Linked DNA regions of Homo sapiens: regions 1, 2, 3, 4, 5 and 7 are each linked to region 6. Evidence: promoter capture Hi-C in 16 types of primary human blood cells and fetal thymus (Javierre and others, 2016). All regions are on one chromosome and are shown on one strand. The core of a region is centred on a gene start or on the middle of the fragment in contact, and the rest is flanking DNA. Distances in the headings are between cores, read along the strand shown. Region 1 overlaps LOC105372437 (a long non-coding RNA gene). Region 2 holds the start of POLD1 (DNA polymerase delta 1, catalytic subunit). Region 3 overlaps MYH14 (myosin heavy chain 14). Region 4 overlaps POLD1 (DNA polymerase delta 1, catalytic subunit). Region 5 overlaps KCNC3 (potassium voltage-gated channel subfamily C member 3). Region 6 holds the start of GPR32 (G protein-coupled receptor 32). Region 7 overlaps MYH14 (myosin heavy chain 14).

Evidence for each region. The method cuts DNA at HindIII sites, captures the fragments that hold promoters and counts their contacts. A CHiCAGO score of 5 or more calls a contact.
Region 1: a contact is called between a fragment that was not itself captured here and the fragment with the promoter of GPR32 in region 6, in 8 of 17 cell types (naive CD8 T cells, naive CD4 T cells, non-activated CD4 T cells and 5 more). The highest score is 10.0, in naive CD8 T cells.
Region 2: the fragment with the promoter of POLD1 here is called in contact with the fragment with the promoter of GPR32 in region 6 in 7 of 17 cell types (total B cells, activated CD4 T cells, naive B cells and 4 more); the score reaches 8.5 in total B cells.
Region 3: a fragment that was not itself captured here is called in contact with the fragment with the promoter of GPR32 in region 6 in 9 of 17 cell types (total B cells, activated CD4 T cells, naive B cells and 6 more); the score reaches 17.3 in total B cells.
Region 4: a contact is called between a fragment that was not itself captured here and the fragment with the promoter of GPR32 in region 6, in 4 of 17 cell types (naive CD4 T cells, naive B cells, total B cells and 1 more). The highest score is 6.7, in naive CD4 T cells.
Region 5: a fragment that was not itself captured here is called in contact with the fragment with the promoter of GPR32 in region 6 in 5 of 17 cell types (total B cells, naive B cells, total CD8 T cells and 2 more); the score reaches 10.5 in total B cells.
Region 7: a contact is called between a fragment that was not itself captured here and the fragment with the promoter of GPR32 in region 6, in 1 of 17 cell types (naive B cells). The highest score is 5.2, in naive B cells.

Annotation. Positions count from the first base shown.
Region 1 is chr19:50,334,895-50,337,747 of GRCh38, reverse strand. The region is part of intron 1 of LOC105372437 (a long non-coding RNA gene); the gene reads right to left. It also overlaps the pseudogene NAPSB. Among named protein-coding and RNA genes, the nearest start is that of KCNC3, 6.9 kb to the right of the region's middle. The HindIII fragment of the contact is 4,846 bases long and covers 1-2,853 here.
Region 2 is chr19:50,383,039-50,385,738 of GRCh38, reverse strand. It overlaps POLD1 (DNA polymerase delta 1, catalytic subunit), which reads right to left and starts at 1,392. Exons shown (of 27, transcript NM_002691.4): 1 at 1,349-1,392. It overlaps NR1H2 (nuclear receptor subfamily 1 group H member 2), which reads right to left. Exons shown (of 10, transcript NM_007121.7): 10 at 2,351-2,700. RefSeq lists an enhancer at 158-659 and silencers at 1,379-1,468, 1,499-1,618, 1,629-1,728. The HindIII fragment of the contact is 22,211 bases long and covers 1-2,700 here.
Region 3 is chr19:50,259,299-50,261,998 of GRCh38, reverse strand. MYH14 (myosin heavy chain 14) reads right to left here. Exons shown (of 43, transcript NM_001145809.2): 20 at 1,284-1,353; 21 at 364-524. Among named protein-coding and RNA genes, the nearest start is that of MYH14, 57 kb to the right of the region's middle. The HindIII fragment of the contact is 3,099 bases long and covers 1-2,700 here.
Region 4 is chr19:50,408,687-50,411,482 of GRCh38, reverse strand. It overlaps POLD1 (DNA polymerase delta 1, catalytic subunit), which reads right to left. Exons shown (of 27, transcript NM_002691.4): 15 at 2,582-2,698; 16 at 2,248-2,361; 17 at 1,817-1,964. Among named protein-coding and RNA genes, the nearest start is that of SPIB, 8.9 kb to the left of the region's middle. The HindIII fragment of the contact is 1,351 bases long and covers 728-2,078 here.
Region 5 is chr19:50,318,213-50,320,912 of GRCh38, reverse strand. It overlaps KCNC3 (potassium voltage-gated channel subfamily C member 3), which reads left to right. Exons shown (of 5, transcript NM_004977.3): 3 at 129-320; 4 at 564-690. The coding sequence ends at 667. Among named protein-coding and RNA genes, the nearest start is that of KCNC3, 9.8 kb to the left of the region's middle. The HindIII fragment of the contact is 1,660 bases long and covers 621-2,280 here.
Region 6 is chr19:50,769,035-50,771,734 of GRCh38, reverse strand. GPR32 (G protein-coupled receptor 32) reads right to left here and starts at 1,271. Exons shown (of 1, transcript NM_001506.2): 1 at 3-1,271. The coding sequence starts at 1,134. The coding sequence ends at 64. The HindIII fragment of the contact is 17,473 bases long and covers 1-2,700 here.
Region 7 is chr19:50,283,779-50,286,478 of GRCh38, reverse strand. The region is part of intron 33 of MYH14 (myosin heavy chain 14); the gene reads right to left. Among named protein-coding and RNA genes, the nearest start is that of KCNC3, 44 kb to the left of the region's middle. The HindIII fragment of the contact is 2,770 bases long and covers 1-2,700 here.

The sequences.
Region 1 (2,853 bases), core at 328-2,827, 430 kb after region 6:
TTGGGTAAGTCTATTTTAGAGGGTCTCCAGGAAGGGCGGCTTCCTAATTCTCATCATCTTCATACCCTACAGGATCCCTCTTCGTCAAGTCCACCCTGGACGCAGGACCCTGAACCTACTGAGGGGATGGGGAAAACCAGCAGAGCTCCCCAAGTTGGGGGCCCCATCCCCTGGGGACAAGCCTGCCTCGGTACCTCTCTCCAAATTCCTGGATGTGAGTCACAGCCCTACACAGCCCCCACTCCTGTGCCCTTGAGCCAAACTCTTCATTGACTCTGTCTCTTCTTTTGCCTCCTCAGGCCCAGTATTTTGGGGAAATTGGGCTGGGAACGCCTCCACAAAACTTCACTGTTGCCTTTGACACTGGCTCCTCCAATCTCTGGGTCCCGTCCAGGAGATGCCACTTCTTCAGTGTGCCCTGCTGTGAGCTTCTATGTGGGAGAATAAGGCTGAATGGGGGTGAAGGGAGAAGGCGGGGCTGGGCCTCAGCTTCCCAAAGGTTTTTGAGGAACTGTTCTTTTCTGACACCCTCAAAGGTCAGAAGGTTAAAGGGGCAGAAGGCATTCGGAAAGCTCCCCTCCCACAGTGACACCTCTCTGACTTCTGACCTAGGGTTCCACCACCGCTTCAATCCCAATGCCTCCAGCTCCTTCAAGCCCAGTGGGACCAAGTTTGCCATTCAGTATGGAACTGGGCGGGTAGATGGAATCCTGAGTGAGGACAAGCTGACTGTGAGTGGCCTTTGACTCCAGGAAGCCTCGAGCCTGGGAGAACCCTGTTGTCTAAGATCATCTGGCTTAGGGAGGGGCTTGAGGTGCAGGGGCTTCCTGAGCCGATGGATGGGGCTTCTCAAGGAGGGGGAGGGGTTCCTGGGTGAAGGGATAGGAATTCTCTCAAGTCCAGAGGCAAAGTTTGCTAAGCAGTTGGGGGCTTGGGTCCAGATGTCCCCAGACCTGGGATTAATGCTTTGGTTTGGGAGACCTCAGGACATGTGGTTATTGTCCTCCCAAAAGTAACTGGTCACATCTCAATCTACCCCTAGATTGGTGGAATCAAGGGTGCATCCGTGATTTTCGGGGAAGCTCTGTGGGAATCCAGCCTGGTCTTCACTGTTTCCCGCCCCGATGGGATATTGGGCCTCGGTTTTCCCATTCTGTCTGTGGAAGGAGTTCGGCCCCCGCTGGATGTACTGGTGGAGCAGGGGCTATTGGATAAGCCTGTCTTCTCCTTTTACTTCAACAGGTGCTGGGGAGGGTGCACCTATCTATGAGTCCTATTCCTCAGAAGGAAGTGAGGCCCTCCTTCAGGAAGTCTCTTACTCCATAAAGAAAGTCCCAGTTCAGGCACGGTGGCTCATGCCCGTAATCCCAGCAATTTGGGAGGCTGAGGCAGATTGATCACCTGAAGTCAAGAGTTCCAGACCAGCCTGGCTAACATGGTGAAACCCCATCTGTACTAAAACTATAAAAATTAGCTGGGTGCGGTGGCACATGCCTGTAATCCCAGCTACTTGAGAGGCTGAGGCAGGAGAATTGCTTGAATCCGGGAGGTGGAGGTTGCAGTGAGCCGAGATCGCACCACTGCTCTCCAGTCTGGGTGACAGAGAGAGACCGTCTCCAAAAAAAAAAAAAAAAAAAAAAAATCAATCCCACCCTTCATTCAGGAAGTAGCCACCTACCTAACAGAAGAAACACCTCAACCCTATTCATAAGCCCCAGAGCTTAAGTGACAACTTAAGACATATTAAAGAAACTCACCAACAGTTCAATATGCTGAGTTTCAAAATCAAACTAGGAAATTCTATGCCCCACCCAACCAAATACTCAGGAACCTTCTCTTCACCATAAAGCTCAAATCCCATTTGAGAACACTGACCAGAAGTCAGGAAATGCCTGATTGAATTCACGAAGCCCCACCCACCTGGTAGGAAGGTCAATCTTATGCTCAGAAGTCCCACCCACCACCCGAGAAGTCTTCACTTTCCCTCCCAGGGCCCATCACACACAGTCCAATGCCCACTCAGTTACCCTGACATCCAACCCACTCAAGAAGTTCCACCTAGCTCTCGGTAGGTCCCACTCATTTACATCTTCCAGGAAGTTTCCATCCCCGTTCCCATCACTCTCAGCCAGCTCAGGAAGTCTAACACCTTTCTAGATACCACAACAGGCAATTCAGAAAGTCTATGCACCTTCCCAGGAAGCCACCCCACTCCTGTACAAGTCACACCTTCGAGCCAATTCTGAGACTCCACTGGTCTGCTTGGTTACTATGATATTCAGCTCAGGAATTTCCCCCAAAAGCTCTACCTTCCACAGCCAAATGAAGAAGTCTCCTCTCCACTTCAGGAAGTATCCATCATCCTAAAGTCCTAACTTCCATCAAGAAAAGCACCATTTCCCTTCATTTCTTGTTTCCAGTCCCAACATCTCGGCCCTGCCTGCATTCCACTGCCCCAACTAGAACCCCAAAAATGACCCAATTGGCAGGAAGTCCCATCCCTGGCCATTCCTAGGGCTGGCGGGGGAGGGCTGGCGACAATGACCTCTACACTCTGCCCCTGCAGGGACCCTGAAGTGGCTGATGGAGGAGAGCTGGTCCTGGGGGGCTCAGACCCGGCACACTACATCCCACCCCTCACCTTCGTGCCAGTCACAGTCCCCGCCTACTGGCAGATCCACATGGAGCGGTGAGGGACTTGGTCTCCTGGGTCTGGAGCTGGAGGCCTGGACTCCTAGGACCCTGCCTCTAATGACTGCTTCCTTCCCCCTCAGTGTGAAGGTGGGCTCACGGCTGACTCTCTGTGCCCAGGGCTGTGCTGCCATCCTGGATACAGGCACACCTGTCATCGTA
Region 2 (2,700 bases), core at 143-2,642, 390 kb after region 6:
TGGCCAACACGGCGAAACCCCATCTCTACTAAAAATACAAAAAATGAGCTGGGCATGGCAGTGGGTGCCGTAATCCCAGCTACTCAGGAGGCTGAGGCACGAGACTCGCCTGAACTCGGGAGGCGGAGGTTGCAATGAGCTGAGTTTGCACCACTGCATTCCAGCCTGGGTGACAGAGCAAGACTCTGTCTCAAAAAAAAAAAAAAAAAAAAGAGAAGACAGTGGCAACAAGTTCCTTCAGTGGAAGGGCTGAGGCGAGGCACTGACATCGCCCTGCCCACTCCTGGCTCCGCTCTAAACCCTGCCCACTCACTCCCCCACTAATCTTTGCCTTCAGAGCGGCAACCCCAACCTGCTTCTCCCTTAGCCTTCCCCATCCAGCCTGCTGCTCAAACCACAAACCCAGGAGTCATCCTGGACTCTTCCCCTTGCTCCTACGCCCAGTCCATCAGCCAGTCCCCCTGTCTCCGCCCGCAAAGGTAACCGGAGCCTGATTCTCTGCCTGCAGGACGCTCTCCCTCCTAACAGATCTCCCTCCTTCCATTCTTATTCCTGCTACAATCCAATTTCCACTCAGTGGTGAGTTTTTCAAAACATGGGGCGAATCGTGTTGTTTCCACGCTCAAACCCTCCCACGGCTCCCCGCTGAACCTAGAATAAAGGAGAAATTCCATACCAAGTTTTACAAGGCCCTATAGGATCTAGTTCCCCATCATGACTCCGACCTCATCTGTGTTTCTCTCGTCCCCTCGGCTCCTGCTACAAATACGCCAAGCTCCTTCCACCTCAGGGCTTTGCACTTGAGGGTCCCAGAGCGGTCGATTCTGGACCACTCCAGCTAAAGCAACAGGCTCTTCGCTCATTATCACGTTACCCTGCGTTAGTTTCCTTCTGAGAGCATCTCACAGCCCCAGAGCACTGCTTTACTGATCTATTAAAACTCATCACTTGTCTACCGTCTGTCTTCCCGAGACAGGGACTTCTCTGACTTGTTCCTGCTTCCAGAAAAGTGCCTGGCACAGAGTACTCAAACACCCAGCGAATCCAGGATGACACCAAGCCCGCACGTGCACCACCCAGTCCCCCCAGCTCCTCCCGGGCCACGTCCCGCCCCACGGTGCCCGGCGCATGCGCCCCCTGCCCGCCGAGGAATTCCACCCCCACCCCGGCCTTTTCCTGCTCGTCCCCGCGCCCTCGCCCAGGAAACCCCTGGCCCCTGCCCTCTCCTGCGCGCCCCCGGGCCAAAGGGTGCCCTCGCAACCGTCTCTCAGATCTATGTGCCTGGCTGCTCAAGCCCCGTTCCCTACCAGGCCCACTGCCCCGAACTCCCTTTTTCCCCTCTACTCACCCGCTTCAAACAGCGTTTCCCGCCACAGCCTACGCCGCCGTGACCCCTGACTCCCGCGCGCGCAAGCCCAGAGCCGCGGCGCTCAGAGACGGGCCACGCCCCCGCCTGCCCAAGTGCGGGCAAGGCCACGCCCCGCTTGTTCGACTGCAGGGCAGGCCCCGCCCCCTCTCTCAGCTTCCGAAGTGGCCTCGCCCCCTTGCTGAAAAATTCCCTTAACTCCGCCTCCCCATGACCTGTCTGCCCGAAGCCACGCCCCTCCGCGCGGCTACCTTCACGACCTCGTGCGGTCTGGGCGCGCCGCGGTTCTGTTCTCTCTCCTCCCACCCTCGGGTGTTGCGCGCGCATCCTCCGCGTCCCCCCGCCCGCCTCTCGCCCGGGGCCGTGTAGGGAGCGCTGCCCCGTCGCTGCCCAGCAGCCAGCTGGTGACCTGACGCCCAAGATCCCCGCAGAGGCTGGCCGATAAGCGGTAGAGTCCTGGCTTGATCTGTTCTCCTTCATCCTAGCTTCAGTTTCCCTATACGTAAATTAGACTCAACAACGCATGATAGGGACACTTGTGGGGCGCCCGGTACACTACTCTTAGGATAAGGTGATCATTGGTAACTACTCTCACTTCCGCTGTTCCCCGCCCCAAATAAATACACCTTTAAGTTGCATCCCTCCATCCAACCCCCCTTTCGCCCTCGATTGGAATTGCTCATTCAGCTCCTTCAGGGCTGGCACAGGGGCAGGAAGGATTGGAGGAACTTCGTCGCTTCGCTCCGAACTCCTGGCGTCTCTCCTTTCAAACTTTGCACGTGCTGTTCCCTCAACTTGGAGGCCCAGCCCCCAGGCTCTTGTTTTAGGTCCCAGCGATTGCCTCTGTTGTGATACCTTCCCTGATTTCCTCTAGCCCCACCACAGTGCCACGCTCATTAAAGTCCCTATCCCCCGAGTCTTGGTAGGAGGATGGTTATCTTGTTCACAGATGTTTCCAGTGCCTAGAATTGTGCCTAACTGTAGTTAATGCTCTGGAAACATTTATTGGGTGAATGTCTCCATCTCTAGAATGGCCAACCCAGTGCCTGGCCCACAGGAGGCCTCAGCAAACACTTGTTGTTCGGACAGAAGTCCAGGTCCCCTCATTCACTTAAATCCTGTTTATCCTTCAAGGGTGAGTTCTGATTCACCTTGTCCAGGGAGGTGACCCTGAGGCTGAGGCCTCTGTCCTGAACTTTCACAGCAGGCGACACACCACCCAACACTGGGACCCTATGTGCCACCCTTTTCCCAACAGCCTGGGGACACCCAGTCCCACCTGCTCAATCAGGTTCGGGCACCCAGTGTCACTGAGGTCCCTAGAAGCCCGCGCC
Region 3 (2,700 bases), core at 123-2,622, 510 kb after region 6:
CCCCTCGAGGGACTGGCCAGGGAGAGCGGACAGCTTGACCTGGGTTGCCCCGGGCTTTCTCTGTTTTAGCACTGGAAGTCCTGCACCCTGGGAAACCCAGACCCAGGCCCACTAGGACAGCTGGTCACCCTGCGGCTAAGTCCAGCCTCTGTGTTGCCAGTCTTACTCTGAACAGGGCCTGCCCTGCCCACAGGGCCCCTCAGGGACTGCAGAACCAAGAAGCCTGGACACCCGGCACCTCCATCCACCTGCTCCTCAGCCCTGCACCCATCCTGGAGGCCCTGACACCTAGAGCCATCTGGTCAACCCCTCCCTGACCCAGTCTCGGCCAACAGGACCCCGGGAGACAGCGTGGCTGCCCACCTGCGAGCCAGGTATCCCCGGGCAGCTGCCTGGAAGGAGACGATGATGTCGGTGACCTTCAGGTCTCGCTCCTCTTCCAGCTGGGCCAGGACCCCAGCCCGGAAGAAGATCTTGCTCTGTCCCACGCGGTAGAGGTTGGGGTCCAGTTCCAGCGCCTGGATCTGTGAGGGGTGGGAGAGGGGTGATGACGGAGAGGGGGTGATGGGGGAGTGGGGGTGGTGAGGAGGGGGAGTAATGGGGGAGGGGGTGGCGAGGAGGGGGAGTGATAGGGAAGGGGTGGTGATTGGGGAGAGGGGGTAATGGGGGAGGGGGTGATGGGGGAGGGAGGTGATGGGGGAGAAGTGATGGGGAGGGGGTGATGAGGAGAGTGATAGGGGAGGGGGTGATGTGAAGAGTGATAGGGGAGGGGAGTTATAGGAAGGGGGTGATGGGGCAGGGGATGATGGGGGGGTGGTGAGGAGGGGCAGTGATTGGGAGGGGGTGGTGATTGGGGAGAGGGGGTGATGGGGGAGGGGGTGATGTGGAGGAGGGTGATAGGGGAGAAGAGTTATAGGGAGGGGGCGATGGGGGAGTGGTGATGGGGAGGGGGTGATGGGGTGACGGGGAGGGGGGTGATAGGGGATGATGAGGAAGCGGGGGTGGGGGCGGTGATAGGGAGAGGTAATGAGGAAGGTCAATGAAGGGGAGATCCCAGCCCCACTCCCCGACCACCTGGGCCCCTGCACACAAACGCATGCACACACACACATGCACACACACGCATGCACACATATGCATGCACACACACACGCACACACGTGCATGCACACACACTTGCACACACACGCATGCACACATATGCATGCACACACACATGCACGCACACTCATGCACGCACACACACACACGCACACACGCATTCCAGGCTCTGCCCCACTCACCATCTTTTCACAGGCCTGCTTCCCATCCATGAAGCCCTTGGGGATGGCATTGGGTGTCAGGATCTCGTATCTGCAATGAGCAGGGAGGGGTGGGGAGGAGAGAGTTACAGCAAACGCTCACCTAGTGCCTGCTGCGGGCCAGGCACTGGGCTCAGAGTGACACACAGCAGGAACAACAGTGACAATAACAAGGACAGTCACAAAACTCACATCTGAGCATTCACGCCACCACCAAGGACAGCAACATCGACAATGATCGACTGTTTCAGTTTTTTGTTTTGTTTGTTTTTTGAGACAGAGTCTCGCTCTGTCGCCCAGGCTGGAGTGCAGTGGTCAGATCTTGCCTCACTGCGACCTCCGCCTCCCAGGTTCAAGCGATTCTCTTGCCTCAGCCTACCAGGTAGCTGGGATTCAGGCATGTGCCACCATGCCCAGCTAATTTTTGTATTTTTAGTAGAGATGGGGTTTCTCCATGATGGCCAGGCTGTCTTGAACTCCTGACCTGAAGTGATCCACCCGCCTCGGCCTCCCAAAGTGCTGGGGTTACAGGCATGAGCCACAGTGCCCAGCCAGTATTGGCCAGTATTTTGGATGTATTGGCTTTAGTAAAATATCTTGTTAAAATTAATTTCATTTTTTTCACTTGTAAAAGTGTAGCTATTAGAAAATGTTCAATTGTGTACAAGGCTTCCCATTCTACTTCTAAGGGACGGTGCTGCTCTACACAGCTTGTGTGAAGCATCATTTTTGTTACATTTGCTGTATTACTTGCTCATTAGGCCTTGGTATTTTCTATTCTGTCCTATTCTACTTCTTTATTTACTTATTTATTTTTTTGAGACAGAGTTTTGCTCTTGTTGCCCAGGCTGGAGTGCAATGGCGCAATCTCGGCTCACTGCAACCTCCCCCTTCCCGGTTCAAGTGATTCTCCTGCCTCAGCCTCCCGAGTAGCTGGGATTACAGGCATGTGCTACCACACCCGGCTAATTTTGTATTTTTAGTAGAGATGGGGTTTCTCCACGTTGGTCAGGCTGGTCTCGAACTTCCGACCTCAGGTGATCTGTCTGCCTCGGCCTCCCAAAGTGCTGGGATTACAGGCGTGAGCCACCGCGCCCCGCCTTCTACTTCATTTTTAAAGACATGCAGATTTGTAACACCATGCAGTGATTTCACGTTCATAGTTTGGGGCCTACTGCCCTAAACAGCAGCAGCAATGTACCCCAGATCCCCATAGACTCTGTGTGCTTTCTCTCAGGAGTGCATCAAGTGGGCTATTGTTCTCCCATACACAGACGAGTAAACTGAGGCTCAGCAAAGTGAGTAATCTGCCTCAACTTCCCCAGCGCAGAAGGAACAAGAGTGGGTGGAGACCTGAATGCAGGTGTGTCGGCTTCCAGACCCGGGTCCCACCCAGCCC
Region 4 (2,796 bases), core at 154-2,653, 360 kb after region 6:
ACAGAAACAGAACAGTGACAGAGGGAAGCGGCTGAGAGAGAAAAGACAGAGACACAGGATTGGTAAGAGGCAGCCCCAGGGGAGGGCCAAGCTGTGCTCTCTTGGCCTGGCCTCTGCTTCAGGGCTAGAGCCTGATGTCCACACAGCCACCCCTTTCCACCAAGGAGGCTGGGGAGGCAGCCGGGGACTGTGAAAGGCAGAGGGGAGTTGGGAGCATGCAGTGAGCGATTCACTTTGTGCAAAGAAAGGTCTGGCTCTTGCCTGGCTCCTGGTAGTCTAAGCCCCTAGAATATCCCGCCTGATAACAGTGTCTCTGTTCCAGCCTGGGCAACATGGCGAGACCCTATCTCTACAAAAAATAACAAAAATAGGTGGCACGTGCCCGCAGTCCCAGCCACTTGGGAGGCTAACGTGGGAGGCTCACCTGAGTCCCGGAGGTTGAGGCTGCAGTGAGCCACGATTGTGCCACTGCGCTCCAGCCTGGGTGAGAGAGTGAGACTCTGTCTCAAAAAAAAAAAAAAAAAAGGTGTTTGTGTACCTGGGACTTTGAACCACACCAGGTAGTTGACACTAACATGGTTTATGGTAGGGCCCTGGGCCATGCAGTATCAGTTTGACCTCTGGGGGTTGCTGAGGGGCCTGGGGATGATGGAGTCACTAAGGCCAGTCACAGGGTGCTCCATGCCTATAGGACTGACACCCAAGAAAAACCCTGGACCCCAAAGCTTGGGTGAGAGCCTCTGGTTGGCAATGCTGCATGTGTGCAGGCACGCATCAAAACTGGGAGGAAGGAGGGCCAGCCTGGCAACTCTACTGGGAGAGCACAACTGGAAGACACGCCTGGTCCCTCCTATACCCTGCCCTGTGCACCTCTTTCTTTTGCTGAGTTTAATCTGTGTCCTTTTGCTGTATTAAATCATAACCATGAGAACCAGCTTTTCTGCTCTCTGAGTACTTCTAGTGAATCACTGAACCTAAGTGGTCTTTGGGACCCCCAGAACTGCGGGTGGGTGGGTGTGTGCAAAGGCCCCACCCACTGAGAATTCATCCAAGCCTTCCACCCAGAGCCCTGTGAAAAGTGGCGCAGTGCCCAGCCAGAGAGGGAGCTCCCCGTGGCTAGAGGTAACCAAGCAGAGCAGCACAACTACTGGCCTGGAATGGGCCAAGACTCAAGTCCCAGGGGAGAAGGCTGGACAGGAAGACCCTTCCGAGGCCCTCATATGCCAGGAGCTGGGGCACTGACCCCAGCTTGGCAATCTCGGAAACTCAGGCCCTCTGTGGTTTCAAAGAATCTGTTTTTCTGTTCAAGCAGCAGAGCTGCCGTGGGTAGGCAGACCGGGACGCTGCCGTGGGGACGGTGAATGGCTTCCCTCCCCACGTCCCTTGGCCTCTGTGTGAGCGTCGCCTATTGAGAGGGGTGAGTCCCGCCCAGCCCCATCACTCCCCGACAGTCCGCACCTCCTGCTTTATCCGGCTGCAAAGCTCGTAGCGCCACTTGTGTCCTAAACACGTTTACACAGACCTGTCAGTGTCCCCACTGGGCTGCAAGATGACAGGGACAGGAGCTCTCATCCATTTTGTTCCCCTCTGTATCCCCAGGGCACAGAGTGAGCCCTGACCACAGTGTGTGCTCAGTAGGCATTTGCTGAGTGAAGGAATGGACCAATTGCTCAAGCCACATTGGCATCCTCTCTCTAGAAGGCCAGTGAGTTGGGGTGCCCAGTCCTCTGGATACAGGTCCCCCACATGGAGCCCTGGTCTCCTACACAGGGGGCCCACCTGCCCCCAGTTGCCTTCCAGGGGCCCGAGTGCCCACCTGTGAGATCTCCAGGCACGGCAACTTGCCCACCTGGGCGCCAGTGAAGCCGTATACGGAGTTGGCGCTCACCTTCAGCGCCAGCTGCCGTCCATCCAGGACCTGGCGCCGGAGGGGGTCTGTCTCCTTGGCCAGCTCGGCCTTGGCCCTGCGAGGGAACACGGGGAAAGCACACTCAGGCGGCACCTGGGCATTGGTCAGGGCTCCTTTCTGGAAGTGAGTGCCATGTACGGTTGGGCGTACTGTGCACTGCACAGAAGCTTCTGGCCAAGGGGGCAAAAGGAAGCTGCCAGGAGGGGATGCCTTGTGCTAATTCACGCACAGCTGAGGGCAGGGTGGCTGGGCAGCCCTGGGGTGTCCCAGTGAGGGACAGGGATTGCCCAGAGGCCCCAACAGGTCTGAGCTCCAAGCAGGCGATCTCCAGGGCTCACCTCTTCCGGGCACTGAGCAGGTTCTCCAGGATCTGGGGCAGCAGCCCCTTCCGCACTGAGGTCTTCACAAACTCGTCCCCGGTGGGGGTCCTGATGAACTGATCCTCAGTCAGGCTGGGTTGGAAGATGTTGGGGTGACTGCCGGCCACCCTCCTGCTCCAGCCCACCTCTGCCCTACGGTCCTGGCCTTGGCCATGAGCACACGCAGGCCCCTCAAGCACCCCTCCACTCCCTACTATCTCTGGGCCTGTGCCTATGCCCCCCACCAGACTGAGCCCCCCAAGGGAAGGCCCAGATGGGCCTCGGGGGACACATGCTGAATTGGGCACTATACCCCAGTTTCTGTGCAGTCCCGGGCCGAAGGAGCGTGGTGTAACACAGGTTGTGGGCCATCATGATGGACGGGTACAGCGAGGAGAAGTCCAGGGTGGCGATGGGGACGTCGTAGTACCTGGGAGGGGAGCAGCCGCGGCCGGGAGTCAGGGCTAGGAGTTCCCATGCCGCCCCCGCCCTGTCTTGTGGCCTCACCCTTTAAAAAAAAAAAATCAT
Region 5 (2,700 bases), core at 201-2,700, 450 kb after region 6:
TCCACTTCCAGTGCCAAACATCCGCCGACCATCCCAGCATCTGCTCCTCGCAGACATCTTGCCCCACCGCGTGTTCACCGCACCTCACTCTCTCCTTTGTCTCTCTGTCTGACCCCCTTGGGATGCAGATCCTCGCCCCAATGGGGATCCGGCAGCAGCTGCGCTTGCCCACGAGGACTGCCCAGCCATTGACCAGCCTGCCATGTCCCCGGAAGACAAGAGCCCCATCACGCCTGGAAGCCGTGGCCGCTATAGCCGGGACCGAGCCTGCTTCCTCCTCACCGACTATGCCCCTTCCCCTGATGGCTCCATCCGAAAAGGTGAGGTGCCCCCCCTACTGATCCCCTGGGACCCTCCCTCTCTCTCCCCTGCCCAGGGGAGGGAGGAGAGGGGGATGGGGGAGGAGGCGGTGGACTTCCCTTCCCCCTTCCCTTGGCCCCAAACTGCCTCCCTCCCAGATCTTCCCTGTACCCCCGCCCCAAGTTTCCTCACCACTGACCCTTCACCTGTCTTTATTCCATGTCCATTCCCCCCAACTCTCTGGCCTCTTCCCCCACCCCCAGCCACTGGTGCTCCCCCACTGCCCCCCCAAGACTGGCGTAAGCCAGGCCCCCCAAGCTTCTTGCCCGACCTCAACGCCAACGCCGCGGCCTGGATATCCCCCTAGTGGACGAACCCCCTCCCCCCGGGGTAAGTAGCCCCCACCCTCTGATCCCCCGGACCCCCAGACTCCCCACTCCTGCCTGACTAACCCTTCTGAGAACATGCAGCCCCCACTGACCGAGACTTCGGCCCCCTCACTGCAAGCAGCTGCACCCAGTTAACCCCCAGCTCCTGACACTGACCCCACACCCACCTACCCAGGACTCACCCTGCTCCTCACTAACCCCCGAACTAACTCAACCCTGCCTCCCACACTGCACCTGCCCTCACGACCGACCCCATCCTCACCCCCATCAACATCTCTGCCTCCCTCCTTGGTCCTAGGGTTTTTTTTAAAAATTCAATCAGGAAAACGGAGGGCATACCCAGAACACTTCTGGGTGCAGAATGGGGAGAGAAAGGCTCAGCCATCCGTCCATGCCCCTGTGAATTCAGCCAGCGCTTAGACAGCACCCACGCATCCCAGGTACTGGGCATGGGGAGTTCAACCGTGAACAAAAACCATGCCCCCAGGAGCTTCCGCTTTGGAGCAGGAGGCAGACACGGACCTAGAAAGTCATGGTTTGAGGCGATGTATGCTAAAATGGAGGGAGCACAGACAGTGAGAGGAACACTAGAAACTCCCAGGGGATGGGGCCGGGCATCAGGGAAGACTCGATATCTGCAGTGGGGCCTTAAGGTTGAGCAGGAGTTCTGACCACACGCAGAGGAAGAAATCCCATCGACAGGAACGGTTGAAGGGAACCGCAGGACAGAGCTTAGGAGACTAGACTGTGGAGGGAGGATTCTCAGGTAGATATGAGGCAGGCACCGGGCTGAGAGGCTGCCACCTTGTCTAGGGGCTTGGGGAGGAGGCAGGTGAGCTGGGAGGGGCAGCTCTGGGGTCTTGTGAGGATGGACTGGAGGTGGGAGGCTGGAAGTTAGGAGGCTGAGGTGACAGGTGGAAGCGTGAGCTGGGGCCAGGGCTGTGAGGATGGAGAGGAAGGGACGAGGCCGAGAGAGTCGGGGTCAGGGATCAGAAGGGACAGACTGGGGGCTGCCGGCCATGCAGAAGTGAGGGGGATAAGACAGTGGTGCTATTTAGTAGACGAATCATTCAGCAAATATCACCAAGTACCTACCACATGCTAGGAATTTAACATATATTCTTTAATCCTTGTAACAATCCAAGCCAACTCCTAGCTCCTTTCATTCATGTATTCAATCCATTCATTCACTGTTTCAGCAACTGATTCTTTTTTTTTTTTTTTTTTTTTTTGAGACTGTCTTGCTATGTCACCTGGGCTGGAGTGCAATGGTGCAATCTCGGCTCACTGCAACCTCCGCCTCCTGGATTCAAGTGTTGGGGTCTCGCTATGTTGGCCAGGTTGGTCTTGAACTCCTGGGCTCAAGCAGTCCTCCTGCCTTGGCCTCCCGAAGTGCTAAGATTACAGGCATGAGCCACCACCCATGGCCACAACTGATTCTTGAGAACACAGTTGCAGGCACTACAAATTTGGGATAAAACAAAGCGTGAATCTGCCATCACGGTTTACAGTCTCCAGATTGTAAGGGGTCCGCAAACTAACTCCAGCCTGAGGGCCTGATCTTTCAGCATCTGTTTTTGTAAACAAAGCTTTATTGGAACACAACCATGTTAAGCCACGACAGCAGAGTGGAATAATTGGGACAAAGACTATACAGCCCCTATAGCCAAAGAGATTTACTATCTGGCCTTTTACAGGAAAAGTTTCCAGCCGCTCATAGGAAGAAGCAGAAAATAAGCAATTAAGGCTGGGCGGCGGGGGTGGCTCACATCTGTAATCCCAGCACTTTGGGAGGCCGAGGACAGTGGATCACTTGAGGTCAGGAGTTCGAGACCAGCCTGGCCAACATGGTGAAACCCCATCTCTACTAAAAATACAAAAATTAGCCATGCGTGGTGGTGGGCACCTGTAGTCCCAGCTACTTGGGAGGCTGGGGTAGGAGAATCACTTGAACCCGGGAGGTGGAGGTTGCAGTGAGCCAAGATCACACCACTGCACTCCAGCCTGGGCT
Region 6 (2,700 bases), core at 22-2,521:
CAAGGTAAGAGGCCACAAGCAAACTAAGAAGGACGGCTTCCAGCTTCCAGCTGAAGTCTTCCATCATTCCCGGGGGGCGTTGCCACGGGGACAGGATGACAGAAACTCCTCCTCTCCAAACGCCCTCGCCAGGGCAGAAGTCAAAGACTGGAAAAACTTTTCTTGGAAATCTCTGCCAACGAAGACGTAGAGGAAGGGGTTGAGGCTGCTGTTGACACAGCCCAAGGCAAAGCTAGCCTGGAGGATGAGCAGCATCCGGGGGTGGTAGATTTCCTTGAGCATCACCCGTCGCCACAGATGGACCAACAGCACCACGTTAAACGGGGACCAGAAGATAAAGAAAGCGCTCACCAGCACCAGCAGCAGCCTCTTGGGCCGGTTGGCATGGACCCAGCCCTCCCGCAAGAGCTTGGCCCGGATGAGGTGGGCGCAGGTGCCTATGATTGCTAAGGGCCCCAGGAAGCCCAGCAGGAAGTGGCCAATGGTCCCTATAATGTGTCCCTCCACGACCCCTTCAATCCAAATCTGGGCAGTCTCATTGTCAGAGTTGAACGCCAAGTAGCAGTGCGTACAGCCATTCCATTTTCTGGTTGTCCGGAATTTCAGGTGCGCAGAGCACAAGGCGGCGGCCAGGAGCCACACCCCAAAGGCCAGCCAGCTCGCCCGCTGCACAGTGCGGTGGTTCAGGGCCCAGACGGGGTAGAGGACAGAGATGCAACGGTCCACAGAGATGAAGACAAGGAGGCAGTTACTGGCAAAGTAGCTGAGGAACACAAAGGTGATGTAGAGTTTGCAGGCCCACTCTCCGAGGAGCCACTGCCTGGAGACAATATAGTACATGGCAATGGGCAGAGACAGTGAGAGCATGAAATCGGCAAGGGCCAGGTGGAAGAAGCAGACGGTGGAGACCGTGCGTGCCATACGGAAGACAGTCATCCACAGCACCAGCCCATTGCCCAGCACTCCGACGACAATGGACGCAGACAGGATAACCACAGTCAGTGGGCGGAGGGACCCCACCTCCTCAGACAGGCATCCGGAAGAGTTCATCTTCCTGGAACAAGAGCGATCACGTGTCAGGACCCCAGGTTGCCTGTCACTGCAGCCTCTGGTCCCCTCCGAGACCCCATTCATGATTTCTCCATTCCATAATTTTTATGGAATGCTTATTATTATTATTCTTTTAGAGACAGCGTCATGCTCTGTCACCCAGGCTGGAGTGCAAAGGTACAATCACAGATCACTGCAGCCTCCACCTCCTAGGCTCAAGAGATCCTCCCCCCTCAGCCTCCTGGAGTAGCTGGGACTACAGGCACTTACCACCATGCCTGGCTAATTTTTTTACCTTTTTTTTTTTTTTTTTTTTTTGACACAGAGTCTTGCTCTCTCTGTCACCCAGGCTGTAGTGCAATGGTATGATCTCGGCTCACTGCAACCTCCACCTCCAAGGTTCAAGCAATTTTCCTGCCTCAGCCTCCCAAGTAGCTGGAACTACAGGCACATGCCACCACACCTGGCTAATTTTTCTGTTTTTAGTAGAGACAGGGTTTTACCATGTTGGCCAGGCTGGTCTTGAACTACTGACCTCGTGACCCGTCCACCAGCCTCCCAAAGTGCTGGGATTATAGGTGTGAGCCACTCTGCCAGGCCTTAAATTCTTTTTTGTAGAGATGGGGTTTTGCTGTGTTGCCCAGGCTGGTCTTGAACTCCTGGCTTCAAGTGATCCTCCCACCTCAGCCTCCCAAAGTGCTGGGATTACAAGTGTGAGCCATTGAGCCCAGCCTGAATGCTTTTTATGACACAATAATATTGTTCTTTTTTTTTTTTTTTTTTTGAGACAGAGTCTCCTTATGTCACCCAGGCTGCAGTGCAATGGCACGATCTCGGCTCACTGGACACTATAATATTGTTCTAAGTACTGGACATAACTCGTGTAACAAAACAAGCCCTCATGGAACTTACATCCCAGTGAGAGATGTCAGGTGTAATACATATAATAAATTTACTTCATGATATACTGCTTTAGAAGACTACAAGTGTTATGGAAAAATAATAAATGAAATGGAGGGGCCAGGTGTGGTGGCTCATGCTTGTAATCACAACACTTTGGGAGGCTGAGGCAGAAGGATTGCTTGAAGCCAGGAGTTCCAAACCAAGGTGGGCAACATAGTGAGACCGTCTCTACAAAAAATAAATAATTACAAGTTTTTGTGGCCATGCACAGTGGCTCACGCCTGTAATCCCAGCACTTTGGGAGGCTGAGGTAGGCGGATCACCTGAGGTCAGGAGTTCGAGATCAGCCTGCCCAGCATGGCGAAACCCCGTCTCTACTAAAAATACAAAAAACATTAGCTGGGTGTGGTGGCAGCCACCTGTAATCCCAGCTACTCATGAGGCTGAAGAATCACTTAAACTTGGGAGGCGGAGGTTGCAGTGAATCAAGATCGCGCCACTGCACTCCAGCCTGGGTAACGAGAGCGAAACTCCGTCTCAAAAAAATAAAAATAAAATAAAATTTAAAAATTAGCCGTGAGATGGGCGTAGTGGCTCATTCCTGTAATCCCAGCACTTTGGGAGGCTGAGGCTGGTGGATCACTTAAGTTCAGGAGTTCGAGACCAGCCTGGCCAACATGGCAAAAGCCTGTCTCTACTAAAAATACAAAAATTAGCCAGGCTTGGTGGTGCGTGCCTGTAATCCCA
Region 7 (2,700 bases), core at 135-2,634, 490 kb after region 6:
CCAGTTTGAGGGAGATGGGGTAGGGGGAAATAGATTAGCTGAAAGGAGTGTACAAGGGAACGGGAAGAGGGAGCAGCCAGGAACAGAGAAAGAGAGAGAAAGAGACAGACAAAGGCAGAGACACAAGAGGGAGGTAGAGGGATTAAAGTTGCAACCGTGTCCCAAACCAGCTTAACTCTTGAATGGATCAAACTGATCAGTCCCTAACTCTATATGTTCAACAGAAGAAAGGGCATTCCTTCCTCTTAAGAGTGGCAGTAGAAAAAATACACATATATATATTTTTAAATGTACTTCAACCTTTACTGTTTTTTTTTAAGACACAGTAATTGGCAAATAAACTTATAAAACATGCAAAAAAGAAAAGAGAACAGAACTCATAGTTAAGAGAAAAATCAGTCCATACAAATAGACCCACAGATGACCTACATATTAGAACGTGCACACAAGGACTTCATGATAAGTTTCAGAACGAGACAGATACAATGGGTGAAGAGGCAGTTATTTGAGGAGGGATTTGAAACTGTAAAATAGAACCACATAGAAATGCCAGAACTGAAAAATGAAATATCTGAAATAAAAAAGTCACTGGATGAAATTAGTAGCAGACTGGACACATCAGGAGAATCAGTAAACTTGAAAGCAGGTCAATATAAATTATCCAAACAGAGCAAAGAAAGAAAAAGAAAGAAGATTGTAACAGAAATTAATGGAACTTTAACAACCTGAAAAAAGTACCAAGCAGTCATACATACAAGCATTTGGAGTCCTAGAAGGGTAAAGAAAAGGTAAAGAAAGAAGTAAAACTGCCTTTGTTCACAGAAAACATGATCATCTATGTAGAAAATCCAATGAAATATATAAAAACTATATTAGCACTAGTAAGTGAGTTTAGCCAAGATTGTAGGATACAAGATCAATATACAAAAATCTATTGTTTCTATATACTAGCAATCAAAAATGGAAATGAAAGCAACATCACTTAAAATAGCCATAAAACCATGAAATACTTAGAAATACATCTGGCAGCAGATGTGAAAGATGTACATTGAAAACTAAAAAACATTTCTAAGGTATTTCAATGGACGTATATACCCTCTTCCTCGGTGAGAAAACTCAATATTGTTATGATGTCAGTTCTTCCAAAACCGTTGTATAGATTCAACACAGTTCCAAATTGGAAGGCTTTTTGTTTTGGGGTAGAAATTGACAAACTGATTCTAAAATACATACGGAAATGCAAAGGAACTAGAAGAGGCAAAATAACTTCAAATAAGAAGAAAAGGCTGGTGCAGTGGCTTATGCTTGTAATTCCAGCATATTGGGAGGCTGAGGCAGGCAGATCGCCTGAAGTCAGGAGTTCAAGACCACCTGGCCAACATGGTGAAACCCCATCTCTACTAAAAATACAAAAATTAGCCAGGTGTGGTGGCGCACACCTGTAATCCAAGCCACTCGGGAGGCTGAGGTGGGAGAATTGCTTGAACCCGGGAAGCAGAAGTTGCAGCAAGCCAAGATCACGCCACTGCACTCCAGCCTGGGCAAAAAAAAAAAAAAAAAGAAGAAGAAGAAGAAAAAGAAGGAGGAGAAGAAGAAGAAGAAAAATGACTTTCAATAGATATGCAAAAACAAGTCAGTGGAGAGCAGTGTTGGAATACTTGGATATTTATATTCACAAAAATTAACATGGAGCCATGATAGCATCATATGTAAAAATTAACTCAGAATAAATCACAGACCTAAATGTAAACTTGAAACTGGAAGACTTCCAGAAAAAAAAAACAGGATAGGCCGGGTGCAGTGGCTCATGCCTGTAATCCCAGTGCTTTGGGAGGCCGAGGCAGGTGGATCACAAGGTCAGGAGTTTGAGACTAGCCTGGCCAACATAGTGAAACCCTGTCTTTACTAAAAATAAAAAATAAAAAAAAAATAAAAATAAAAAAATTAGCCGGGTGTGGCGGCATGTGCCTGTAATCCCAGCTACTTGGTAGGCTGAGACAGGAGGAATCGCTTGACCCCAGGAGGCAGAGGTTGCAGTAAGCCAAGATCATGCCACTGCACTCCAGCCCGGGCAACAGTGCAAGACTCCGTCTCAAAAAACAAAACAAACAAACAAACAAAAAGAAAACAAGAAAAAAACCAGGATAAAACCTTTGTGACCTTGAGTTAGGCAAAAATTTCTTATATACAATACTAAAAGCACAATCTATAAAACAACAAATTGATAAATTGGACAAAATTAAAAACTTCTGTTCTTTGAAAGACTCTAACAGAATGGAAAGAAAAGCCACAGACTGGACAAAAATATTTGCAAAGCATATATCTGATAAAGAACTTGCATTTAGAATACATAAATAACTTCTTTCTTTTTTTTTGTTTTTTTTTTGTTTTTTGTTTTGTTTTTTTGAGACAGAGTTTCACTCTTGTTGCCCAGGCTGGAGTGCAATGGCATGATCTCGGCTCACCACAACCTCCGCCTCCCAGATTCAAGCGATTCTCCTGCCTCAGCCTCCCAAGTAGCTGGGATTACAGGCATGCACCACCATGCCTACCTAATTTTGTATTTTTAGTAGAGACGGGGTTTCTCCATGTTGGTCAGGCTGGTCTCAAACTCCCAACCTCAGGTGATCTGCCTGCCTTGGCCTCCCAAAGTGCTGGGATTACCAGGCATGAGCCACCGTGCCCGGCCCATAAAGAATT